Linked DNA regions of Homo sapiens: region 1 is linked to region 2. The links are contacts of gene promoters, found by promoter capture Hi-C in human tissues and cell types (Jung and others, 2019). All regions are on one chromosome and are shown on one strand. The core of a region is centred on a gene start or on the middle of the fragment in contact, and the rest is flanking DNA. Distances in the headings are between cores, read along the strand shown. Region 1 has its middle 38 kb from the start of PRPSAP2. Region 2 holds the start of FAM83G (family with sequence similarity 83 member G).

Evidence for each region. Contacts are between HindIII fragments. The study calls those that stand out against the background at their distance.
Region 1: a contact is called between a fragment that was not itself captured here and the fragment with the promoter of FAM83G in region 2, in 1 of the 25 tissues and cell types used here (spleen).

What each region holds. Positions count from the first base shown.
Region 1 is chr17:18,817,257-18,822,752 of GRCh38, reverse strand. No RefSeq gene overlaps it. Among named protein-coding and RNA genes, the nearest start is that of PRPSAP2, 38 kb to the left of the region's middle. The HindIII fragment of the contact is 4,013 bases long and covers 210-4,222 here.
Region 2 is chr17:19,002,961-19,008,794 of GRCh38, reverse strand. FAM83G (family with sequence similarity 83 member G) reads left to right here and starts at 4,031. Exons shown (of 6, transcript NM_001039999.3): 1 at 4,031-4,086; 2 at 4,626-5,275. The coding sequence starts at 4,754. All of the region lies in intron 9 of SLC5A10 (solute carrier family 5 member 10), which reads right to left. RefSeq lists silencers at 2,045-2,339, 3,860-4,159. The HindIII fragment of the contact is 10,221 bases long and covers 1-5,834 here.

The DNA of each region.
Region 1 (5,496 bases), core at 967-3,466, 180 kb after region 2:
GTGATGGCATAAAATACTACTAATGATAGCAACAGAAAATGTAAAGTACCCAAAAATAAAGCTAACCACAAATAGAAAAGACCTCTATAGAGAAAATTATAAAAACTTTACTTAAAGAAATCAAGGACTTAAGAGACATACAATGTTCATGGATCAGAAGATTCAATATTGCAAAGATGAGAATTCCCCCCACTTGATACACGGTTTCAATGGAGTTATGATCAAAATTCTAGCAGAGCTTTTTTGGTACTTAACAAGTTGATTATAAAATTATTATAATCTGGCCAGGTGCGGTAGCTTACACCTGTAATCCCAGCACTTTGGGAGGTCGAGGCAGGCAGATCACAAGGTCAGGAGATCAGGACCATCCTGCTAACATGGTGAAACCCCATCTCTACTAAACATACAAAAAAATTGGCCAGGAGTGGTGGTGGGCGCCTGTAGTTCCAGCTACTTGGGAGGCTGAGGCAGGAGAATGGCATGAGCCCAGGAGGCGGAGCTTGCAGTGAGCTGAGATTATGCCACTGCACTCCAGCCTGGGCGACAGAGCGAGACTCCATCTCAAAAAAAAAAAAAATTATTATAATCTCTACTAATTAAGTTAGTGGGTATTGGTATAGGGATATTCAAATAGAGAAATGTAACTGAAAAGAGAGGCATGAAAGAGAACCACATATATAGAGAAGCTTAGTTTATGATGGAGTTGGTATTGGAGATTAATGTGAAAAGGACAGATATTTCAGTAATTGGTTAGCCACATGGGAAATAAAAAGAAATGTGATTCTGTGTTAGCCATGTTGCTGCAATTATGCTGTGTAACAAACAACTTCCCAAATCTCAGTAGCATATAATGACAAACATATATTTGTCACACAGAGGTCTATAAGTCACACAGAGGTCAGATCAGGTCTACTCCACATGTCTCTCATTCTCTGACCCAAGCTGAAGGAGTGTGGCCACCCGGGGCATGCACTTCTCATGTTGCAGGTAAGGAATACACGAGAGTAAATCAAACCACACATTTAAAGTTTCTTATTGGGTGGGACATACATTATATCTGCTCACATTCTAATCACCAAAACAAGTCACGTGGTTAAGCTCAAAGACAGGGGGGAAGTGGAGTACATTCTACCCAAAATGAATCATGGCACAGGCAGGAAGGAAAGAAAGAATTCTGAGCAAATATTACAAATTACTACAGATTCTACCTCACACCATACCAAAAAAATCAATTTGAGGAGGCTTAAAGACATAACTTATGAAACATTTAAGAGACTATATAGGAAAATATCTTTATGTTCTTAGGGTAAGAAGGAAATTCACAAATATGAAGCATAAAACAGAAACTATAAAAGATTGATAATTTTAATTGAGCTGCTATTCATGAGAAATTCAAAGTGAGATAAGACATTCACAATATATATCAGTGGCAAAGAATTAGCATTCAGAAAACACAAAGTACCCCTATAAATAAATAAGGAAAAAATAGACCTATTCACACCAGGAACTTGGTATTTGACAGAATGGCATCACAAATCAGTGAGGAAAATCTGGATTATTCAATACAGGGTGCTGATACAATTGGCTGTCTACATGGGGAAAGATAAAATGAGATCCCTACTTCAGTCTATATGCCAAGATAAATTCTAGATAATTTTAAAAGCTAAATATGAAAAGCAGCATTTTATAACTTTAAAAGAAAATGTAGCATATCATTATTACATTGATAAAGAGGGTTTTCAATGAATATTGAAAAGAGAAGTCATAAAAGTTGGTAAGTTTGGCTACATTTTTTAAAAAACTTATAAAAGTCAAAACACTCCTGGCCAAGCATTGTGGCTCACACCTGTAATCCCAGCACAATGGGAGGCCAAGGTGGGCGGATCACCGGAGGTCAGGAGTTCCAGACCAGCCTGACCAACATGGTGAAACCCCATCTCTACAAATATACACAAATTATCCAGGCATGGTGGTGCACACCTGTGCACCACCAGAGCGAGATTCCCTCTAAAAAGAACAAACCAAACAAACAAAAACCTCCCTAAACAATGTTAAACGTGAAGTTATAGAGCAGAATTTTTTTTTTTTTTTGGAGACGTAGTCTCGCTCTGTCACCCAGGCTGGAGTACAGTGGCGCGATCTCGGCTCACTGCAACTTCTGCCTCCCGGGTTCAAGTGATTCTCCTGCCTCGGCCTCCCGAGTAGCTAGGACTACAGGTGCATGCCGCCCGGCTAATTTTTTGTATTTTAATAGAGATGGGGTTTCACTGTGTTGCCCAGACTGGTCTCGAATGCCTGAGCTCAGGCAGTCCACCCACCTCGGCCTCCCAAAGTTCTAGGATTACAGGCATGAGCCACCCCGCCAGGCCTTTTTTTTCTTTTTTTTTTCTTTTTGAGACAGAGTCTCGCTCTGTTGCCAGGCTGGAGTGCAGTGGCACGATCTCGGCTCACTGCAACCTCTGCCTCCCAGGTTCAAGCGATTCTCCCGCCTCAGCCTCCCAAGTAGCTGGGATTAAAGGCACCCACCACCATGCCCAGCTAATTTTTGTATTTTTGTAGAGATGGGTTTCACCATGTTGGCCAGGCTAGTCTTGAACTCTTGACCTCAGGTGATCCACCCCCTTTGGCCTCCCAAAGTGCTGAGATTACAGGCATGAGCACTGCACCTGGCTGGAAGATTTTTTTTTTCTTTTTTTTTTTTTTGAGACAGAGTCTCACTCTGTCGCCCAGGCTAGAGTGCAGTGGCGCAATCTCGGCTCACTGCCAGCTCCGCCTCCCAGGTTCACGCCATTCTCCTGCCTCAGTCTCCCAAGTAGCTGGGACTACAGGCGCCCGCCACCACGCCCGGCTAATTTTTTGTATTTTTAGTAGAGACAGGGTTTCACCGTGTTAGCCAGGATGGTCTTGATCTCCTGACCTCGTGATCCGCCCGCCTCGGCCTCCCAAAGTGCTGGGATTACAGGCGTGAGCCACCGTGCCCAGCCGCCAGAAGATATTTTTAACATGCCAAGAAGACAAAGATTAAATATCCAGAATATTTCAAAGATGTCCTATACGCACTACAAAACACTGCTGAAGAGAGCTTGGTGCATTTGAAGAACAACAAAGTGTTTCTTGTGGTTGTAGCAGAGTGGTGTGTGTGTGTGTGTGTGTGTGTGTGTGTTACTCCCGTCTTTACATGATAAATTCCTTTGACTTAGAATGCCCTTTCACCATTTTGTTCCTGGAGTTAGAAAATACCTCATGAAAATTAGCATGACCTTCCTTTATGCTTCTCTGGTTTGTTTTATACTCTCTATTAGACAAATTTTAAAATATTATAATTCATTGAGAGTACCATTTTGCCTCCCCCTACTCCCTACTCCAAATATGAGTTTTTCCTGTTTGATTAAACAGCCTTTGAATATGTGTCACAGATCCAGCTCTGTTCTAGGTACTTTAGAATAAAGATGAATGCTTGGTTGTTTCCAGGCTATGCTGTAAATTCTAAGGAAGGGGGTTAAGGACAGGATTCTTGGAGGCAGTATGATGTGATCCCAGAGACAGGAGATAGGAAAAGGTAAGCACATGTTCTAGATGTGTTTAAATTCTCATCAAATAGGAGGCGACGCCATTCTCTGATGAGGAAGGAGATATGAAATCAGACACCCAAAGAGGCTTTCTAGAGGACATCCTAACTTTTGATAGATGTTTCCACCATCTGGGTGGCGTCCTCTTCTCCATCCCTCTGTTTTCTCAGAAGCAGTTGCTGGGGTCCCAGAGGGATGCACACAGTGGCTATAGGTGCTCACAGATCCACAGTGAAACACTCTTATCTAACCCTGGAAGGTTTTGCTGCTTGAAAACCTTTATGCCTTCATCCTAAGATACAAGGTTGCAAATAGCACCAAGAGCTGGAAACAGATGCCAGCTGAAACCTAAGAACAGACACAGTGCATGAGCAGTGTCCTACCAGGACCACCACTCGGCTCTTGGCAGTGGCAGCCCTCCTCCTCCTGGCTCTGGCAATGACCATCAGTTGCTTCATCTTCTGAAAAGGAAAACTACCCAGTTGGCCAAGCCAGATCTCCAGGAAGGAGGTGTCTCTGTCTCCTGCTTTGAGATCAGTCCTTCCACTGCTCCATCCAGGGAGCCCCAGAGAAAGTAATGTGTGAGTTGAACACACTGAAAATCTGTAGCTAGCACAGGTCAGCAGTTGAAAACAGCATGTATACAATGGCTTTCACCTACACTGTTAAAAGGCGGGCACATGCCCAATAAATGTTTATTGAGTGCCATTAGGTGCCCGGCACTGGGTCATGCACTGACAATGGGAAGGCGAATGACAAAGATAGGCTTCCTGCTGTCATAGCGTTTACAGACAGCTGGAAGCGTGTGATGGTTAATTTTTTGTGTCAGCTTGGCTAGTACTGAGTTATTTAATCAAACACTAATGTAGGTGTTGTTTGCTTTGAAGCTATTTTATAGATGTGGCTAACATCTACAATCTGTTAACATTGAGTAAAACAGGTTGCTCTTTTACTGTGTGGGAATGTCTCAGCCAGTCAGTTAAAGGCCTTATGAACAAAACTAAGATTTTCCTGAGGAAGTAGAAAGTTGACCTCAAGATTGCAACATCAGCTCCTGCTTGAGAGTTCCAGCCTGCTGGCCTGCCCGACAGAATTTGGATTTGTCAGTTCCCACAACTGTGTAAGCCAACTCCTTGAAATAAATCTCTCTCCGTGTGTGTGTGTGTGTGTGTGTGTGTGTGTGTGTGTGCGTGCGCGCGCGCGCATGCGCGCATGTGCATGCGCCCACGTTCATCTCTGGCACGAGACCCACATACAAAGGTGGTGTCCTAAGGTGTATGATTGGGGAAACTGCATGTGGTGCTTAGCACTGTAAGCCTAAGGCAGACTGTCCAGATAGGAACCTTGGATCCATCATGTACTAGATGCACCCTGACCTTGGGTCAACTCCTACATTCTCTAACCCTCAGTTTTCATCTGTAAAATGGAGGTAGTATCTCCCTCACAGGGTTATTGCAAAGAGTCAAAGAGATTAAGTATCTCACGATATTTAAGAGGTTAAATGCCCATGACCAACACAGCAAGTAAATATGAAGCCAGGATTTAAACTCATGTTTGTCTGCACTGCGTATGCCCTTTACCCGCTGCCATATCACCTTGGTCTTTGGGAATTACACTTCAGTTATCAGCTCTTTAACAGACACAGTTGCTGTAGACCACTCCTACATTGTTACAGCTTCGACTCTGCTCTACAGAGATGCCTCTTAAATGTATACCTTTGGCCTAATCCTGAGGTTGAGTTCCAGGTTTCCACTGCACTTTGCTAATTTGATATGCTCCATTGGCTTCAAATCTGACATATCTTAAATTCAAGCTCATCATCGAAGCCTCACCATTGACAAGTCCTGGCTTCACCTCTCTCTAGTTATATGACCCCGGGAAAGCTACTGATCCCCCAATCCTCAGTTTCCTCACTTGTTAAATGGCA
Region 2 (5,834 bases), core at 2,782-5,281:
AGGCACGGTGGCTCACGCCTGTAATCCCAGCACTTTGGGAGGCTGAGGCGGGCAGATCACGAGGTCAGGAGATCGATACCATCCTGGCTAACACGGTGAAACCCCGTCTCTATTAAAACTACAAAAAATTAGCAGGGCGTGGTGGCAGGCGCCTGTAGTCCCAGCTACTCCGGAGGCTGAGGCAGGAGAATGGTGTGAACCCAGGAGGCGGAGCTTGCAGTGAGCTGAGATCGTGACACTGCACGCCAGCCTGGGCAACAGTGCAAGACCCCGTATCAAAAAAAAAAAAAAAATCTGTGAGGCTGTCTCCTCCTCTGTAAAAACTCAGAATTCTGAGAACATCTATAGGCCAAAAACCTACCCTCAATCTAAACTTCACACCTTATACAAAAATTAACTCAAAATAGATCACAGATTTAAATGTAAAATGTTAAAAAAAACTATCAAACTTTTGGGGAAAATAATAGGAGAAAATCTTTAGGACCTAAGGCTAGGCTGTAAAAGTTGATCATACACATTGGATCATTCTTGTCTACAAAACTAAAATAGAGTTAAGAGGACAGTGGGGGAAAGCACCCAGGGTACATAACATTATTCCAAAAATGCAATTCCCTATGAGCCTGGCTGGTGAAAGAAACTCCCTTTTACAACCTGCAACCAGTTTTATCTATAGCTGCTGAGATAACTTGCTACAGATCTAGGACTAATTTTGCTTACCACCATCACTTACCAGTCAGAACTCTTCAGCTCCCCAAACCCTTACCAGTGCCAAGGAACTTTCTCAAAGAGCACTAAGTAACATTTCTGCTTTCAAGAAAACCTCTAACCTTCTTTGTGTTCTCCAGACACATCAAAGACCACCCAGTCTTTGTGCATGCCCTGAATTGCAATTTTTCTTCCCAAATAAAACGTTAAATATAGAGATTCATCTCTACATTTTCATTTTGACTTCAACAAAGTGAATAGTTCTTAGACTTGATGCCAAAAGCATGATGCATAAAAGGAAAAATTGATAAACTGGACCTCATCAACATTTAAAACTTTAGCTCTGTGTAAGACACCTCGAAGAGGATGAAAAAGCAAGCTACTGACTGGGAGAAAATATTTGCAGAGCACACACCCAACAAAGGTCCTGTAGCTAGAATATATAAAGAACTTTTGAAATTCAACAGTATAAGCCTGGGCAACATAGCAAGACCATGATTCTACTAAAAATAAAAAACAATTAGCCAGGCATGGTGGTGCACATCTGTAGTCCCAGCTACTCAGGAGGCTGAAGTGGGAGGACGGCTTGAGTCCAGGAATTTGAGGTTGCAGTGAGCTATCATTAAGCCACTGCACTTCAGCCTGGATAACAGAGCAAGAGCCTATCTCTAATAAAACAAAAAAGTAAAAAAGTTAAAACTCAAGAGTTAAAAAATAGACAATCCATTTAGAAAATGGGCAAAAGACATGAACAAATGTTTCAAAGGAAAAGACAAACAGATGGCATATAAGCCCATGAAAAGAGATTCAATGACATTAGCCATCAGGAAAGCACAAATTTAAGCCACAATAAGATATGATCTACCTATCAGAATGGCCAAAAAAAAAAAAAAAAATAGCGGTAACACCACATGTTGGCAAGGATGTGGAGAAACTGGATCACTCATACATTGTTGGTGAGAATGTGAAATGGTACAGCCACTCTGGAAAAAGTTTGGCAGTGTTTGAACATGCAACTACCAGGACCCAGGAATAACACTCTTGGGCACTTATGCCAGAGAAATGAAACCTGATGTTTATATACATATGTGTATGAATGCTCATAACAAGGTTATTTGTAATAATCAAAAGCTGGAAACCCCACATATCCTTCAATCACTGAAATGGTTAAGCAAACTGTGGTATATCCATACCATGGAATACTAGTCAGCAATGAAAAGCACAAACCATTGATCCATGAAACAACCTGGATGACTTGCTGGAGAATTATGCTAAGTGGGAAAAAAGGCCAATCCCAAAAGTTTATATACTATATCTTCCATTTATATAGCATTCTTGAAACAGCAAAATTGTTGAATTGTAGAATAGATTAGTGGTTGCCAGAAGTTAGGAATGGTGGTCGGGGGAGGTGTGGGGATGGCTACAGAGAAGGAGATCTTTGTAGTGACAGAACAGTTCTGTATCTTGACTGTAATGGTGGTTACACAAATCTATACACATAATAAGGTTGTATAACACACATAAATGAGTGCATGTAAAACTGGTGAAATCTGGCCAGTGCAGTGGCTCACGCCTATAATCCCAGAACTTCGGGAGGCCAAGGTGGGAGAATCACTTGAGGCCAGGAGTTTGAGACCAGTCTGAGCAACATAGTGAGGCCTTGTCTCTACAAAAAAAAAAAAAAAAGAAAAAAGAAAAAAGAAAAAAAATTAGCTGGGCATGGTGTCTCTGGTCCCAGCTACTCAGGAGGCTGAGGCTTGAGCCCAGGAGTTCAAGGCTGCATTGAGCAATGATTGTACATACCACTGCACTCCAGCCTAGGTGACAGAGCAAGACCCTGTCCCAAAACAAACAAAAAACTGGTGAAATCTAAATAAGCTTTGTGGATTGCACCAGTGTCAATTTTCTGGCTGTGATATTATTGTATTATAGTTATGCAAAACGTCGCTACTGGGGAAAACTGGGTGCATACAACCTTCCTGCTCATCAACTGCAGAAGTGTTGGGGTGGTGGAGGTGGGAGTGAGGCCTTGGACTCCCTTCCTGAACTCTCCAGCCTCTGTGCATTGGTAAGAACACAGGGAGAAGCTGAGGCGGCTCAGAGAAGGTCTTACAGGGGATCCACAGTAGCAGAGGGGCTATAAATGGGTCTTCAGGACCCTCAAGGCAGGGCTCCCCCGCTGGGATCACCTCCCCTCTCTGGCCCTGGGGCAGGAGGAGGATGCAAATATGTGTGCCTGTTCCCCAGGGGCCACTATGTTCAGTAGCATAAAGCCCTTGGGGGGCTATATGGCAGAGTGTAGGACTTCATGCTTGAGGGGTCAGTGATGGGGACCACAAGGATGCTGGGCCTAGGAGGCTAGTCATTGCCCAGGGCAGTGGACTCAGAGGCAAGGAGTCCTGATGGGCCATGAATGGTGGAGAAGGCCTTGGAGGGGGGGGGTTTGAGGGCACAAGGCCTAGAGATGTCACCAGCCTACGGAAGCAGCATCCTTACGGGACCCAAACCAGCCCCATCCAGATCCAGAGCAAGTATGGGGGATGGGAGGAAGGGCTGGGCCTGGTGCCGGGCAGACTGGCTGCGGCACGCGATGGGGTGGGGGCTGTTTGTTGGGCCAGATTTAATGGGCTTTGCTGTCCCACCCTCAAAGCCTGCCTTCAGATGTGGTCTCCACGCTCCCCATAACCAGGGTCCCAACCCCAGGGGACGCTCAGCAGAGAGCTGGGCCTGACCCCAGCCCACAGCGGCCCTCTTGGCCCCTCCCTGCCCTAGGGTTCAGGTCGGGTGCTGCCCGCCACGCAGAAGCAGTCCGGGGACCCCTCCCAGAGGGGATCAGGGCTTAGGACTGAGAACTGGGTATCTGCTCAGGAAAGCCCTGAGTTTGGGTCAGTCAGTGCCCTATCCCTGCCTGGGGGCTCCCAGCCCAGTACCCTAGACCTGTTTCCACAACTGGACAGCTGGGTATCTATACAGCCGCACGGACTTCCCGCCACGCCGGCGAAACTGGGCACAGCCAGGGTTGATCCAGGATCACCAACAGACCCTGGGGGCACAGGGGGGTGCCAAGGCTGTTGACCCGCTGTGTGACCTCAGGGAGAACACTGTCCCTCTCTGGGATGGGTGTTCCAGGAGCTCTTGGGCTTAGGCCTCTGATATTTTCGGAATTCGGGCACCAGGGGACCGTGGGCAGTGCGTCCGCCCCAGGTCTGTCTGTCTGTCGAGGGGTGAATCAGCTTCCGGCCCCGCCCCGGGCGGCACGTGACCGCAGGTGGCGGCGGCGGGGTAAGCGGGGCGGCCCTGAGTCACCGGCGCGCCCCCGCCCAGCCTCGCGCCGCCGCCGCAGCCGCCGCGTGTGCGCCCCGCTCCGCCAGCGCCCGCTCGGTAAGCAAGTCCCGGCCGCGCCCCCCGGATCCCGGGTCTCGCGGGGCGTCGCCGCCCCGCAACCGCGTTTCTGGGTCTCCTGGACCCCTCCCAGAGCCCCAGCCTCCTCCGGGCAGGCCTCCTGGGTTGCCGGCACCCGGAAATTTTAAGACCCCTCCCTTACCCGGAAGCCCTCGGTTTGCGGGGCGCCTCTGTGCCGGGGCCGCCTCCCACTCTAAGAAGCTACTGGGAAGTTCCCCGGCTGCCCTAGTTTCCCTCAGAAGTTGCGAGGACTTCAGGCAGCTCCGGAAATCTGGGATATGGGTTCCCTGCACGTAGAGGCACGCTGAGCCCTGGGACGTGGCCCACCGCTCCCTCACCGCTGTTCCGATCCCTTACTTTCTTCCCATCCCAGTCCAGTGCCCCCACCTCATCTTCCCAGCCCCAGCCCCAGCCCCGTCCTTCCCACGCCCACCTGAGTTCCCGGCCCCGCCCCCGCCGCCCCTCCCCGCGCGGCCCGCCCTCCCCGCCGAGCCGGGCTCATCAGGTCTTTCCCGCAGATTGCTCATGGGCAGAGAAGCAGAGGCCGCGGAGAGGCCCCCGAGCGCGCGGTGCCCCAGCTGGGCCGGAGCTAGGAGCTGGACCTTGCCCACCCACCCCCGGCAGCAGTGCCCGGGCAGGCGGCGCCATGGCCTTCTCTCAGGTGCAGTGTCTGGACGACAACCATGTGAACTGGCGCTCCAGCGAGTCCAAGCCTGAGTTCTTCTACAGCGAGGAGCAGCGGCTGGCGCTGGAGGCCCTGGTGGCCCGCGGCCGGGACGCCTTCTACGAGGTGCTCAAGCGGGAGAACATCCGAGACTTCCTCTCGGAGCTGGAGCTCAAGCGCATCCTGGAGACCATCGAGGTGTACGACCCGGGCTCTGAGGACCCTCGGGGCACGGGCCCCTCTCAGGGGCCCGAGGACAATGGGGTCGGCGACGGCGAGGAAGCCAGCGGGGCGGATGGGGTCCCCATCGAGGCCGAGCCGCTGCCCTCCCTGGAGTACTGGCCCCAGAAGTCGGACCGCTCCATCCCGCAGCTGGACCTGGGCTGGCCCGACACCATCGCCTACCGCGGCGTGACCCGGGCTAGCGTCTACATGCAGCCCCCCATAGACGGGCAGGCCCACATCAAAGAGGTGGTGCGGAAGATGATCAGCCAGGCACAGAAGGTGAGGCAGCGCGGGGACTCCTGGAGCCATGGCCCAACCAGCCACCGGACCCCTCTCAATACAGGCTCACTCAGAGCCCAAAACGGGAGCCCAACATGGGCTTCTAGGGATCTCTGCTGTTTTCCCTGGCTGCCTCTTGGGTGGAGGTTTCCTCCCCACCTTCGTGGGGATCCGCAGTTTCTTTGCAGGGTAGGGTTCCCAGGTCCTAGCAGGTGACAGTGGGCTGCCCCGTCTCAAAGGGCCTCTTTATTGTTGGAGGGTGTTTCTGGTTCCCCAGAAGAAGGCACCGAGATAGGGTGGAGTGGGGAGGGGAGGAACCCCAGGGCTTCCTCTCACTCTCCCTTAGAGTGGCTCTGATTCACTGTAAAGGCGCGCACACACCATGAGCTCTCTGGTGGGGAGAGCTTTTGTTGTGGGGTGAGGGAATAGGCATGGTCCAAGTCCATCTGAGACTGGCCTGGAGGTCCTTGTTCAACACTGCCTGTTTCCTAGCTGTGCTGAGCAACTGGGAGCAGATTGCACACCCTCTCTGAGCCTCTTTGTGAGCTTTGCAATGGTG